Regions from separate parts of the Homo sapiens genome. Here all the other regions are linked to region 3. The links are contacts of gene promoters, found by promoter capture Hi-C in blood cells and fetal thymus (Javierre and others, 2016). All regions are on one chromosome and are shown on one strand. The core of a region is centred on a gene start or on the middle of the fragment in contact, and the rest is flanking DNA. Distances in the headings are between cores, read along the strand shown.

Region 1 (3,381 bases), core at 579-3,078, 460 kb before region 3:
GTTCAAAGCAGTCAACTAGATAGATCAGGTGTCTGTCCTCGGGTTGTTCACAGCAGGTGGGGCAGAAGGATCAGGGACTGCTGGAGTTGACATGTGAGCTGAGATGTGATTTGATTTGATTTGATTTGACTTTTTTTTGGAGCCAGAGTTTCGCTCTTGTTGCCCAGGCTGGAGTGCAATGGTGTGATCTCGGCTCACTGCAACCTCCGCCTCCCGGGTTCAAGTGATTCTCCTGCCTCAGGCTCCCGAGTAGCTGGGATTACAGGCGTCCACCACCGTGCCCAGCTAATTTGGGGTTTTTAGTAGAGATGGGGTTTCACCATGTTGGCCAGGCTGGTCTCGAACTCCTGACCTCAGGTGATCCGCCCACCTCGGCCTCCCAAAGTGCTGGGATTACAGGCCTGAGCCACAGCGCCCAGCCCAAGCAGAGATTTAAGTGACAAAGGGCAGGCCTATGCAGAGGTCTGGGGAAACAGTGTTCCAGGCAAAGGAAGGGGGCCCTCCAAAGTCTCTGAGCCCTGTCTGGCAAGAGAGCAGCCAGAAGTGAGGGTGGTTGGAGGTTGCAGACATAGGCAGGGCCACATTGAGCTAGGCCCAGGTAAGGAATTTGAAGCTTTAACTCTAAATTTCTTTTTTCCTCATTCTAAAACCATCCCAATAAAATTTATAAAAGTAATCAGGGAAGAAAGTGTGGGGGAGGGGACAAAAATAAACCAAGCTTGCAGCCAATTCGGCATTAATCATGAGGTCAGCTTCCTCTCTGACCTGCTTGCTCAGAGTTGTTTGGTGCCTATTGTCCTAGAATCATGCAGACCCTGTCACAAGATTATAGTTCCCTTCTATTGCTCTATAGAGAACAACTTGAACATTATGAAATACTCAGTTTTCCCTTTGAGATAGTCTTTCAGATCCTGCATACCAATGAAACTACTGCCTCAGCTGGCCTGAAGGATCCCACTGATGCCAGCTGGTCTGAGGAACCCGTGAGAAACTGATTCAGCAAAGAATGCAGCTTCCCTATCCTGATGATTTCATCTCCCTTACTCCGACCAATCAAGGACCCCAATTTTCCAGCCCCTCGCCCTCTGTGATCCTCTTAAAAACCTCAGCCCAGAACTCTTGGGAAGATAGATTCGAGGATCTCTTCCCATCTCTTTGCTAGGTGCCCTGCAATCATTAAACTCTTTCCCTGCTGCAAACTCTGCTGTCTTCGTGTAATGGGTTTGTTACTGCACAGCAGGCATACGAACCTGTTGATCCTATATCTCTATCACCTAGGCTGGAGGGCAGAGGCACGATCATAGCTCCCCGCAGCCTCCACCTCTTGGGTTCAAGAGATCCTCCCGCCTCAGCCTCCCGAGTAGTTGAGCCTGCAGGCGTGCACCACCACCCCTGGCTAATTTTGGGTTGGTTTTGTTTGTTTGTTTGTGTTTGTAGAGATGAAGTTTCGCTATGTTGCCCAGGCTAGTCTCGAATTCCTGGCCTCAAGTGATCCTCCAGCCTCGGCCTCCCAAACTGCAGGGATTACAGGCAGAAGCCACCATGCCCGGCTAATAACCTGAATCTCTTGACGGTGAAGAGAAATAAGGAGAGGGGTAAAATGGCTAAAGGATGTCTGTTTGGAGGCAAGGAAGGTCGCCCAGAGGTCAGGCACGCTCCCCTTGGCGGACACAGCTGGGCTTCTCAGAGACTCCTAAATCCTGCCTCGCATCTCAAATCGGCTTAACGACGCGAAAGAGCTGGGCGACGCGCGCGCACTCTCGCGGAAGCTTGAGTCTCGGCGCCCGCCGTAGACGTCGTGACAGAGGCGGCCCGTTGCCTTGGAGCCAGAGAGACGCAGCTAGGCCTGCACGGCTGTGGAGAGATCCTGCCACGGGCCTTGTTCACCATGTCGGTGCTGGATGCGCTTTGGGAGGATCGGGATGTCCGTTTCGACCTGTCCGCGCAGTGAGTTTCCAAGATTCCCGAGGGATCTTCAACCCTGTAGAGGGCGCCGCCGTGCGCGTTAGGGACCCGCGGGCGGAGACTGCACCTCCGCAGCTCGCGGCCCTGGTGAGGGTGGGAGGCTTGCGCCGGTCGTCCGCGCCTCGAGAGACCTCAGGCTGGTTGGGCCACTGTGGCCCTCTCGAGGCCGGCGCCGCGGCAAGAGCGCATCGGCATTACACAGTTTTGGTCCCATGCGACCTCCGGTTCCCCCATCCTGGCCCGCGGGACGGATCAGGAATGTGAACCTGAGCACGACCGGGGCCACCCGGGGCTTAGCGTCCCGTATACACCCACGTGAGCTTGGGATTTCAGTTTCATGGAAGGAACGTAGGTCAGGGACTCAGGAAACTAGGGTTCTAAAAGTAGATGTGTAATATCGACCCACAGTGTGGGCCCTTGAGCAGATGTCTTCATCATTCAAGCTAGAATCCTCATGTCTGTAAAATAAGGGAGGTGGGAGTAAGGCAGTCGTCAAAAATTACTAACCGCGCAAACTTTATGTCCTTGGTAAGCTTTCATCTAGTTATTCATATCAGTCACCAACAAGAAGGAGTCTTCTTTTGCAACCTGTTTTTGGAAATTATCATACATTAAATAGAAACCATGTTTTTGGAAAGTATCGTAAAGAAAAAGTGGTTAGAAACCTCCTACTCCAAAATCCAGGGCGGGAAATGCCGGTTGGGTTACTAAGTGTTGAGAAACGCTAAAGCTAAGATTCCTGGATTAATGGCATGGAGCTTCTTAGCTACTTCTTATCGTTCCTTATCATGGACCTCCCCTCCTTAGGTGGAATCGTTCCTTATCATGGACCTCACCTCCTTAGATGGAATCGTTCCTTATCATGGACCTCACCTCCTTAGATGGAAAAATGAAATATTGATAAATTTCTCAGGTTAAGTATAGCTAGATATCTAATGCTAACATGTTAGACCCTTTAAGAAGATGAAAGAGAAAGGAATTCGTAAAATTACGGACTGTAGTAACATATTGCGCACTTTCTATGACATTTTCTGTCATTCTTTTTTTTTTTTTTTTTTTTTTTTTTTTGAGACAGAGTTTCGCTCTTGTTGCCCAGGCTGGAGTGCAATGACGCGATCTCGGCTCACTGCGACCTCCGCCTCCCAGGTTCAAGCAATTCTCCTGCCTCAGCCTCCAGAGTAGCTGGGATTACAGGCACGCACCAACACGCCTGGCTAATTTTGTATTTTTAGTAGAGACGGGGTTTCTCCATGTTGAGGCTGGTCTCGAACTCCTGACCTCAGGTGATCCGCCCGCCTCGGCCTCCCAAAGTGCTGGGATTACAGGCGTGAGCCACTGCGCCCGGCGACATTTTCTGTCTTTCTTGTAGGGTTCTTAATCCAAACAAAAGTCCGTTTCAGTAACATTAGTAAACAT
Region 2 (3,145 bases), core at 518-3,017, 430 kb before region 3:
CAATGAGCTCTTCTTTCAGCTGTTGTTTTAGCAGCTGACAGTACCATTGACTTCACTGTGATGTAAAATAAAAGAAAAGGCCTTTACTCATGGATAGAGACCTTGAAGTTTAAAAATACATAATTCCTTGATCTGGGGCATTCATTCATTCAACAAATACTTATAAAGCACTCACGAAACCCCTACGCTATAGCATTTGAAAAGAACAGACACTCCCACAATCCCTGTCTTCATGGAATTTGTTTTTGGGGGTATGTGTAAAAATACCAACTTTTGAAATTACAGTATTTCTACAGCCCTACTTGAGTTCAGATAATGTGACAATATGACTGTGTAATAAAGTATTTAATGGGCCCAGTGCGGTGGCTCACACGTGTAATCCCAGCAATTTGGGAGGCCGAGGCAGGCGGATCGCGAGGTCAGCAGTTCGAGACCAGCCTGGCCAACATGATGAAACCCTGTCTCTACTAAAAATACAAAAATTAGCCAGGCATGGTGGCGGGTGCCTGTAATCCCAGCTACTCGGGAGGCTGAGGCAAGAGAATTGCTTGAACCCGGGAGGCAGAAGTTGCAGTGAGCCGAGACTGCGCCATTGTACTCCAGCCTGGGTGACAGAGCGAGACTCTGTCTCAAAAATAAATAAATAAATGAAAGTATTTAATGAAGTATATTATACCATCTATATATAAACAAAGGACCGATTTTCTTTCAAATCATTACTTCTACCTCCATAATTAATATGGTATTCTATTATAATCAACAGCCTACGTTATGTCCCCAGTTATATACTCTTTAAAAAAAGGGGGGGCTGTTCTCTATGACCATTGTAGGAGTTCATCTTGATTTTGCTGTGTTTAGTGATAACATTGTTCTCATGGGGTTATATCTGTTCTATTTTTCACGTTTTATTTAATGAATGATAATTTTTGATATTTAAAATTACAGATTATCTTTTGTGATCTTATTTGAATGTGTGTGGACTTTTTCGTTCCCTAGATTGACTTTTAATTATTTTTTCTGGCTCTGTGATTCCTTTTAACCTTTTGCTTTTATTTTACCTTATTATCGTTTGCCACATTAGATCATTTGTATGACAAGGCAGGATATGAATAAATAATTTTATAATTTAATTCAATATTAATTACAGTTTTTCCATGTAAGAATAATTTGGAATGTTTTAGAAAATTAGCAATTCCTCTGCATTTCTTTTTTCAATTATCATGGCAACATTAAAGGTTTTGTAAAACTAGTACAGAAGTAAACATCTTTAAGTTTACTACTTCTAAAAGAAATATCTATATCCCACTGTTCTGAGTAGAAAGTAAAAATTTGTATGTTAACAATTATTGGAAATGAGATCTTGCTTATGAGTATTCAAATGAACACATCTCATATTCTTGACCTTTGCATCATTAATTCAGAGAGCCAAGTAGCTTGACACTAGAACATATTTAGAGGAGTGACTCATTTTTATGATTCATTTTTCTGTTAATTCAATAAACATTTTCTTGTAGTAGCCTTTATTAGTATATCTTCTAATGTGTTATGTATTTTTAAGCTTTCAACTTCACTTAAATGTCTTGTTTCTTAGCTGTTTCCCTAGTGATTAAAAGTTCCAGTTGTTACTTTCAATCTATAACAGCTGCAAGAACAACTCTTCTTTCCAAGCCAGCTCTCCTAAATTCCCGTTGTTAGAGTTGGTATCTATATTTAGCTAGTGGGATTAAATTGCAAAGGCTTCAAGCTGGGCAAAGCACACTGATCTGCCTTTTTACAGCTAGACCTGTGTGCTGCAAGGAGCTAAGGCCTTCAGTGTCCCCTTCCTTACCCAGGTTTCTCACAGAATGGATTCCCAGCGGGAACTTGCAGAGGAACTGCGGCTTTACCAATCCACCCTTCTTCAGGATGGTCTAAAAGATCTCCTGGATGAGAAAAAATTCATCGATTGCACCCTAAAAGCAGGTGACAAAAGTCTTCCTTGCCACAGATTGATTTTGTCAGCTTGTAGTCCTTACTTCCGTGAGTACTTTTTATCTGAAATTGATGAGGCGAAAAAAAAGGAGGTAGTGCTAGACAATGTGGATCCTGCTATACTTGATTTAATCATCAAATACCTGTACTCTGCCAGTATTGATCTCAATGACGGAAATGTGCAAGATATTTTTGCATTGGCCAGCCGCTTTCAGATCCCCTCAGTGTTTACTGTCTGCGTTTCTTATCTTCAGAAAAGACTTGCTCCTGGTAACTGTCTAGCCATCCTAAGATTAGGACTTCTTCTTGACTGCCCGAGACTCGCCATTTCTGCCCGTGAATTTGTGTCTGATCGCTTTGTACAGATTTGTAAGGAAGAGGACTTTATGCAACTGTCTCCACAGGAACTGATCTCAGTCATTTCAAATGACAGCCTAAATGTAGAAAAAGAAGAAGCAGTATTTGAGGCAGTGATGAAATGGGTGCGAACAGACAAGGAAAACAGGGTTAAAAACCTTAGTGAAGTGTTTGATTGTATCCGTTTTCGCCTTATGACAGAAAAATATTTTAAGGATCATGTTGAGAAAGATGATATAATTAAAAGCAACCCAGACCTCCAGAAAAAAATCAAAGTTCTAAAAGATGCTTTCGCAGGCAAACTCCCAGAACCTAGCAAAAATGCCGCGAAGACTGGGGCTGGTGAGGTGAATGGTGATGTTGGTGATGAAGATTTACTTCCTGGTTACCTGAATGACATTCCCAGGCATGGAATGTTTGTAAAAGACCTCATCCTCTTGGTTAATGACACAGCAGCAGTGGCTTATGACCCCACGGAAAATGAATGCTACCTTACTGCACTGGCTGAGCAGATTCCCAGAAATCATTCCAGCATTGTTACCCAGCAAAATCAGATATATGTGGTAGGAGGACTATATGTGGATGAAGAAAATAAGGATCAACCTCTACAGTCATACTTCTTCCAGGTAAGAAGGACTTTTTGTATATGTAGTTGCTTAAAGGGAAGGCTGTTACTCACCATCCAGTTAGCCAATTTGTGAATTATTCAAGCTGCTTGCATTTTACTCTAATTGATGTCCTATTCCAGTCCCTTGCACTTTTGCTGTATAGAGCGTTGACAGAAAAATATTTGACTGCTTTGTTAATGTGTAATAAA
Region 3 (3,418 bases), core at 444-2,943:
TTTTTCTATATAGTTTAGGCTTTAAATTTTTCTGTTATGATTTTTAATGGCTTCTGAATTTCTAAGAGCATAGCGCCTTAAAATGTCTGCATGTCTGGAGTTTTGAGTTATATTTTTAAGTTGGTTTCTAGTTTTATTTGCTATGTGACAAGTGAATGTGGTTCATGTATCTGTTTTTTTGATATTTTTGAGATTTACTTTGCATTCTACATAGTCAATTTTTATAAATATTCTAAGCGCTGTTAAAATTATGTGTATTCACTACTTGTTGCATGTTGCCTTTGCCCATGCTTCTTAATTGTGTTGTTAAAAATCTTAAAACTGTTTACCAATGTTTTTCTGGCTCTCATTTAGATAAGTATGTTAATATCCTTTACTATGGTTGTAGATTTGTCGTTTTCTCTGTGTAATTCCCTCAAAATTTGCCTTTTGTATTATGAGGCTGCTATTACAGTTGTCCCCTCTTATCTGTGGTTTAGTTTTCTGTACTTTCAGTTACCTGTAGCCAATGGCTGTCCGAAAATATTAAATGGAAAATTCCAGAAATAAGTAATTTATAGATTTTAAATTATATGCCATTATAAGCAGGATGATGAATTCTTGTGCCATCCTGCTCTGTCCCACCTGGAATATGGATTGTTCCTTAGTCCAGTGTACCATGCTGTATATACTACTCACTTGTTAGTTATTGACATTGTCTGCTCCTGACATCCAGCCATCACATTGTCATGGCCTGATGATTCAGGATCACCTGAAGCAGATATTCCTCCTTCTGATGACATGTTGTTAGAAGGTCATTAGTAGCCCGATACCATGTCACAGTGCTTACCATCATTCACTTCACTTCATCTCATCACATAGGCATTTTATCATCTCATATCATCCCAAGAATAACAGGAGTGAGTATAGTACAATGGTCCCCCTCTTATCCTCAGGACATGTTCCAAGACCCACAGTGGATGCCTGAAATGAGGGATGGTATCCAAACCCTATATATACTATGTTTTTCTCCTACAATACATACCTATGATAAAGCTTAATTTATAAATTAGAGATAGTGAGAGATTAACAGTAATAACTAAAGATAAAATAAAACAATTATAACAATACTCCGAATGGCATCCAATTGAAAACCTGTGAATTATTTCTGGAGATTTTCATTTAATATTTTCTGACCATGGTTGACCATGGGTAACTGAAACTGTGGAAAGTGAAACTAGGTATAAGGGGGACTACTATACATAAGGTATTTTGAGAGAGAAAGCATGTACACATTCACCTAACTTTTATTACAGTATATTGCTGTAATCTATTATCACTTACTGTTGTTAATCTCTTACTGTGTCTAATTTATAAATTAACCTTTATCATAGGTATGTATGTGTAGGAAAACATAGTATGTAGAGAGTTTGTTATTATCCATATTTTCAGGCATCTACTGGGGGCTTTGGAACGTGTTCCCTGAAGATAAGAGGGGACTACTGTATTTGCATACAAGTTCATAATTATCTTCTTGGGGAACTTGTTCTTACATCCCAGAAGAGACAGACAAGCTAATTCATTCTCCTTGTGAGTTACTCTTTCAGTGAGGGTAAAGCCTGTCAAGGGTCTCAGCTTTAGATGGGATATCAGTTCTATCTCTGAGCCTTGTGTGAGCCCAACATACCTTGTGATCTGTTTGCTCAAGGACTTTAAAACCACTGGCACAGTGTTAGTGCTTGTCATTAATTCCTTCTTTTTTTCTGGTAACTGGAGAATTCCACTTTTGTGTGAGCTCAAATACGCATTCAAAAGATTACATTTATATTTTATCCAGCTTTTCCAACCATTCGTAGTGGGAGAATTTTCAGGTCGTCTATTTTGCTTAATCGTTACAGCTGGAAATTTCCTTGCTGAGTACTTCATGTGTATTCTTTCTGTTCATTTCTCTTTGTTAGCACTTTAAAGTTTATATATTTTTTAATTTTCAGCTTAGCTCTCTTTACTCATCTTTAGCCATTAGGAAAAGAAATAGTAATGTTCATTGTGTAGAGAATAGATACCTCTTTGGCATTTTAAGCAATTTGATTAAAAATAGCACTGCATAAAATATTGTGACAGAAATTGGTGTCTATAAATTACATTTAAACCACAGTTTGATTTTGAGGCTATCATCTAATTCTAGTTTTGTTTTATTTTTACAGTTTAAAACAGAGTGGAAAATTTCCTGGAAATCCCTGGCCTCCATATAAGAAAAGGACATCACTCCATCCTAGCTATAAAGGTCTTATGAGACTTTTGCACTGTAAAACTTTACACATTGTGCTATTCACTCTGCTTTACAAGGTACAGTAGTAATTTGAATAGAAAGACTAAGCTTAGAATTTATTTTCAAATAATAATCCTAAAGGATAATATTTACATAAAAGTACCACTTATAAAGCAAAGTGTATTTATGCATTTAAGATGTATGAAGATATGTTATAATCACATGTATTTGAAATCCAAGTTGAACATAACAGAATAGCTACAGCATTCTTTGTGAGAAACTATTTATCTTATCTAGCTACCGATAAAAGTATTTATTTATGGATTCTGTAGAACAGTAAGTGAAATACCGTGGAACTACAGGAGGTGTGGAATGAGCTACAGGGACCAAACAACCATCAGAACCCACTAAAATGACAAAACTAGAATGGCAGTTATGTGAGGCAGTGAATCTTAGGTTGGGGGGTTCTTTTTGCTTTTTCCCTCTAATCAGGAAAGTGACGTGGAAGGATTTGAGTGTGGTTTCTATGTGGCAAGATCAAAAATTGTTTTTGATAAACATTTTAGGAACTAACAAGATGATGCTTTTACTTGCTTGTTATCTAAAATTTGTTTTATTTTGGGATCTTCTCACGTAAGACAGATTTATTTGACTAACATTAATTGTGTACTCAAAAACTTGTGTGAAGCATAATATTGTATAGTATGTATGTGTGTATATAATAGGGATTTTTATAATCTCATCTGCATGAAAGATGAAAGAAGGCTGGGCGCGGTGGCTCACGCCTGTAATCCCAGCACTTTGGGAGGCTGAGGTGGGCAGATCACGAGGTCAGGAGTTCGAGACCAGCCTGGCCAACATGGTGAAACCCTGTCTCTACTAAAAATACAAAAATTAGGTGGGTGTGGTGGTGGGCGCCTGTAATCCCAGCTTCTCAGGAGGCCAAGGCAGGAGAATTGCTTGAACCCGGGAGGTGGAGGTTGCAGTGAGCCCAGATTGTGCCACTGCACTCCAGCCTGGGTGACAGAGCAGGACTCCAACTTGGAGGGGGAAGAAAGATGAAAGAAAAAAGAAAATAACTATACTCATGTAGATAATATAACTATATAGACATGATAAATGTTATGCAGGTAGATACAAAGAAAACCTATTGTTCTTCTTCCTAATTAG
Region 4 (3,326 bases), core at 745-3,244, 360 kb before region 3:
ATAGGATAACAAATGTTGTTTATTATATACACTATACATACAGTATCCTTCCATTTATTTATTTTTATTTAAGTTGTGGGGTACATATGCAGGTTTGTTACAGAGGTAAACTTGTGTAATGGGGGTTTGTTGTACAGAATATTTCATCACCTAGGTATTAAGTCTAGGACCCATTAGTTATTTTTCCTGATCCTCTCCCTCCTCCCACTGTCTACACTCTGATAGGCCCCAGTGTGTATTGTGCCCCTCTATGTCTTCATGTGTTCTCATCATTTAGCTCCCACTTATAAGTGAGAACATGTGGTACTTGGTTTTCTGTTTCTGCATTAGTTTGCTAAGGATAATGGTCTCCAGCTCCATCCATGTTCCTGCGAAGGGCATGAGATCATTCTTTTTCATGGCTGCATAGTATTCCATGGAGTATATGTACCACATTTTCTTTATCAAGTCTACCATTGATGGACATTTAGGTTGACTCCATGTCTTCGCTATTGTGAATAGTGTGGCAATGAACATACATATGTGTATGTCTTTATAACAGAACAACTTATATTCCTTTGGGTATATACCCAGTAATGTGATTGCTGGGTCAAATGGTATTTCTGCCTCTAGGTCTTTGAGGAATCGCCACGCTGTCTTCCACAATAGTTGAATTCATTTAAACTCCCACCAGCACTGTAAAATGTTCCTTTTTCTCCACAACCTCACCAGCACCTGTTATTTTTTGACTTTTTAATAATAGCCATTCTGACTGGTATGAGATAGTATCTCACTGCGGTTTTGATTTGCATTTTTCTGATGATTGGTGGTGTTGAGCTTTTTCATTATGATTGTTGGCTGCAAGTATGTCTTCTTTCGAAAAGCGTTGGCCGGGCGTGGTGGCTCACACCTGTAATCCCGGCACTTTGGGAGGCCAAGGAGGACGGATCACCTGAGGTTGGGAGTTTGAGACCAGCCTGACCTACATGGAGAAACCCTGTCTCTACTAAAAATACAAAAAATTAGCCAGGCCAGTCTGTGGCCCAGGGGTTGGGGACCCCTGTTTTAAGGTATTGCAGAATTGTCCCCTCCACACACAGCGAAGTGTAAATCCGTTTAATCTCTGAACTATCTAAAGATGAATATGCTGCTGCTCTCCTGCAATAAAGGGCAATGACTTAAAAGAGGTGGGGGTGGAGAGGCAGAAATGTCCTCTGTTTTACTGCTGTGTAAAACTGGTCACGCCCCTTAGAAGCACCACCACATGCCTAACTGTTGTTGATAATTAATTTACCTGATGCAAGTGAGTGAAAAATTTAAATGATCATAATTTACGTTGCCTTTAAACGACAGAACAATTTAAGTCCTCTAGTTAGCTAGTTCCTTTAAAACACACCCCACATCCCTACCAGAATCACTGCCCATCCCCCCCCACCCCCCCGCCCAAACAGCAATGGTTATTTATTTCTAACATAATCCGGGGACCCTTGCCCCTTAAAATAATTAAATAATATATGCCATATTTTCTCTAGAAGGCACTAGATTTGGCATCAAAAGACTTGCTTTGGCATTCAAGAACAGTGTGTTTGAGGAGGAGGCGTTTATCTTCCCTGAGCCTCAATTTCTTTATCTGTAAAACAACAAAGAACATCAAAGCTCTTTGTAATTTCTTCCTCTTTCCTCAAATAACACTTTGCTCATTACTGCGTTTTTAGAACTTATATCCTAGCGTTAAGTGGAAGCTTAACTGGAAGCTCCATGAAGGTAGGCCTTCCTTTCTGATAACCTAGCGTAAGATCAATAAATGTTTATTAAATGAGGCACTTTACTTCACAAAGGATATGGCATTTTAACGGTTACAAGCGTTCCCAGTCAACGCATCCACAAAGCATTAGGCCACCTATAAACTAGGAATTTAAAAGGCACCAAAATCCTAGAAGTCCTAGGAGGGCGTGGTGACGCAAGCAGGTGAACGCTGGCCGATGCTGACAACCCACTCCTGACGCGCTTCCGGTGCGACGCTGTCTCTCCATGCCAGGACTGAGTTGTGGGGGAGGGAGGCGGTTAGCGGGCTTTAGCGCCTTTTCTGGCGGCGGTAGATTTGAAGCGCTTCAAAGGACCGGACCCAGAGAAGAGGAAAACTCTACCGGTGCAGGTAAGTGGTATGAGGCTCAAGTTGTTCTGGCGGCGTCATTTCAGCAGTCCCTGCGTACGAAAGCGGGAAGGGCCTGGGAAGAGGGGCGGAGCCGGCGCGGCTGACCGGGTTGGGTTTACCGTCTTTCCCTCGAGGTATCGGGGCTGCTTGGGCCCAGAGGAAGTCCCTGAGGACCGCAGCAGTGCCTTTGCCGCTGTTGCAGAAGGAGAAGGCTTGCAGTCGAGCCCCGGGGCCTGGGGACGGTCCTTCCTCTGCCAGCCCCCGCCCTCCCCACTCAGGCGCACACCTCCCTCACTGACGCATTTTGCCGCACAAGCTGTAACATGGCGGCAGCGACTGCGGCCTGAACTCTAGGGAGCCGGGTTGATTTTTAAAGCTTCAAAATCCTAAGACTCAGCACTGTTGCGGGGTAGGTGGCGGGACTGGTGGGGAAGGGGGAGACAGCCTGACGTCCTGTCAGGCTAGGGTTGGAGAGTGACGGGCGAAGAGCCTGAATCACAGGGATTAAAATTGAAGACTAGCTTTCCTCCTCTTTCGACCTTTTCCTCTCACAGCACAGTGGCTGTCGTGCAGTTAAGTGGCAGAGGCCACTTTGTTAAGCATTTTTCTAAAACTCAAGTCCAGGGTCTTGAGCTCTCGCGAAGTTCCCCCGTGTTTCGGAGGAGCTGTGAGCTGCGCAGGCCTTTTAGGAGGAGATAATTACTCTTTAGGAGGAAGATGATGATTTCGGGGCTCAGTATGCCTGAAGGGGAAGTATGCTAATTTGGTTCTTGGTTAGTCTTTTTTTTTGAGACGGAGTCTCGCTCTGTCGCCTAGGCTGGAATGCAGTGGCGCGATCTTGGCTCACTGCAACCTCCGCCTCCTGGGTTCAAGTGATTCTTCTGCCTCAGCCTCCCAAGTAGCTGGGACTACAGGCACGTGCCACCATGCCCGGCTAATTTTTTGTGTTTTTAGTAGAGACGGGTTTTCACCGTGTTAGCCAGGATGGTCGATCTCCTGACCTCGTGATCCGCCCACCTCGGCCTCCCAAAGTGCTGGGATTACAGGCGAGAGCCACCGCGCACGGCCAGCTCATGTTTAGTCTTAAGGAGCAAAGTCTAGATGTGCTGGCAAGGAGTATGCACAATCGTTTTGGAAATGCTATAAAAGCACCATTTTGTGCATTGATTTTAATTTCTTTCCACGATAGCCC

Evidence for each region. Contacts are between HindIII fragments. The CHiCAGO score rates a contact against its expected background, and 5 or more counts as called.
Region 1: a contact is called between the fragment with the promoter of BBS5 here and a fragment that was not itself captured in region 3, in 6 of 17 cell types (naive CD8 T cells, naive B cells, M1 macrophages and 3 more). The highest score is 5.7, in naive CD8 T cells.
Region 2: the fragment with the promoter of KLHL41 here is called in contact with a fragment that was not itself captured in region 3 in 8 of 17 cell types (naive B cells, activated CD4 T cells, total CD8 T cells and 5 more); the score reaches 10.5 in naive B cells.
Region 4: a contact is called between the fragment with the promoter of PPIG here and a fragment that was not itself captured in region 3, in 1 of 17 cell types (non-activated CD4 T cells). The highest score is 5.4, in non-activated CD4 T cells.

Annotation. Positions count from the first base shown.
Region 1 is chr2:169,477,666-169,481,046 of GRCh38, forward strand. It overlaps BBS5 (Bardet-Biedl syndrome 5), which reads left to right and starts at 1,829. Exons shown (of 12, transcript NM_152384.3): 1 at 1,829-1,947. The coding sequence starts at 1,889. RefSeq lists enhancers at 1,643-1,752, 1,763-2,102. The HindIII fragment of the contact is 729 bases long and covers 1,768-2,496 here.
Region 2 is chr2:169,507,935-169,511,079 of GRCh38, forward strand. KLHL41 (kelch like family member 41) reads left to right here and starts at 1,768. Exons shown (of 6, transcript NM_006063.3): 1 at 1,768-2,954. The coding sequence starts at 1,845. The HindIII fragment of the contact is 4,398 bases long and covers 1,557-3,145 here.
Region 3 is chr2:169,940,310-169,943,727 of GRCh38, forward strand. UBR3 (ubiquitin protein ligase E3 component n-recognin 3) reads left to right here. Exons shown (of 39, transcript NM_172070.4): 20 at 2,184-2,325. Among named protein-coding and RNA genes, the nearest start is that of UBR3, 110 kb to the left of the region's middle. The HindIII fragment of the contact is 1,321 bases long and covers 1,034-2,354 here.
Region 4 is chr2:169,582,357-169,585,682 of GRCh38, forward strand. PPIG (peptidylprolyl isomerase G) reads left to right here and starts at 1,995. Exons shown (of 14, transcript NM_004792.3): 1 at 1,995-2,134. RefSeq lists an enhancer at 1,911-1,960. The HindIII fragment of the contact is 789 bases long and covers 1,720-2,508 here.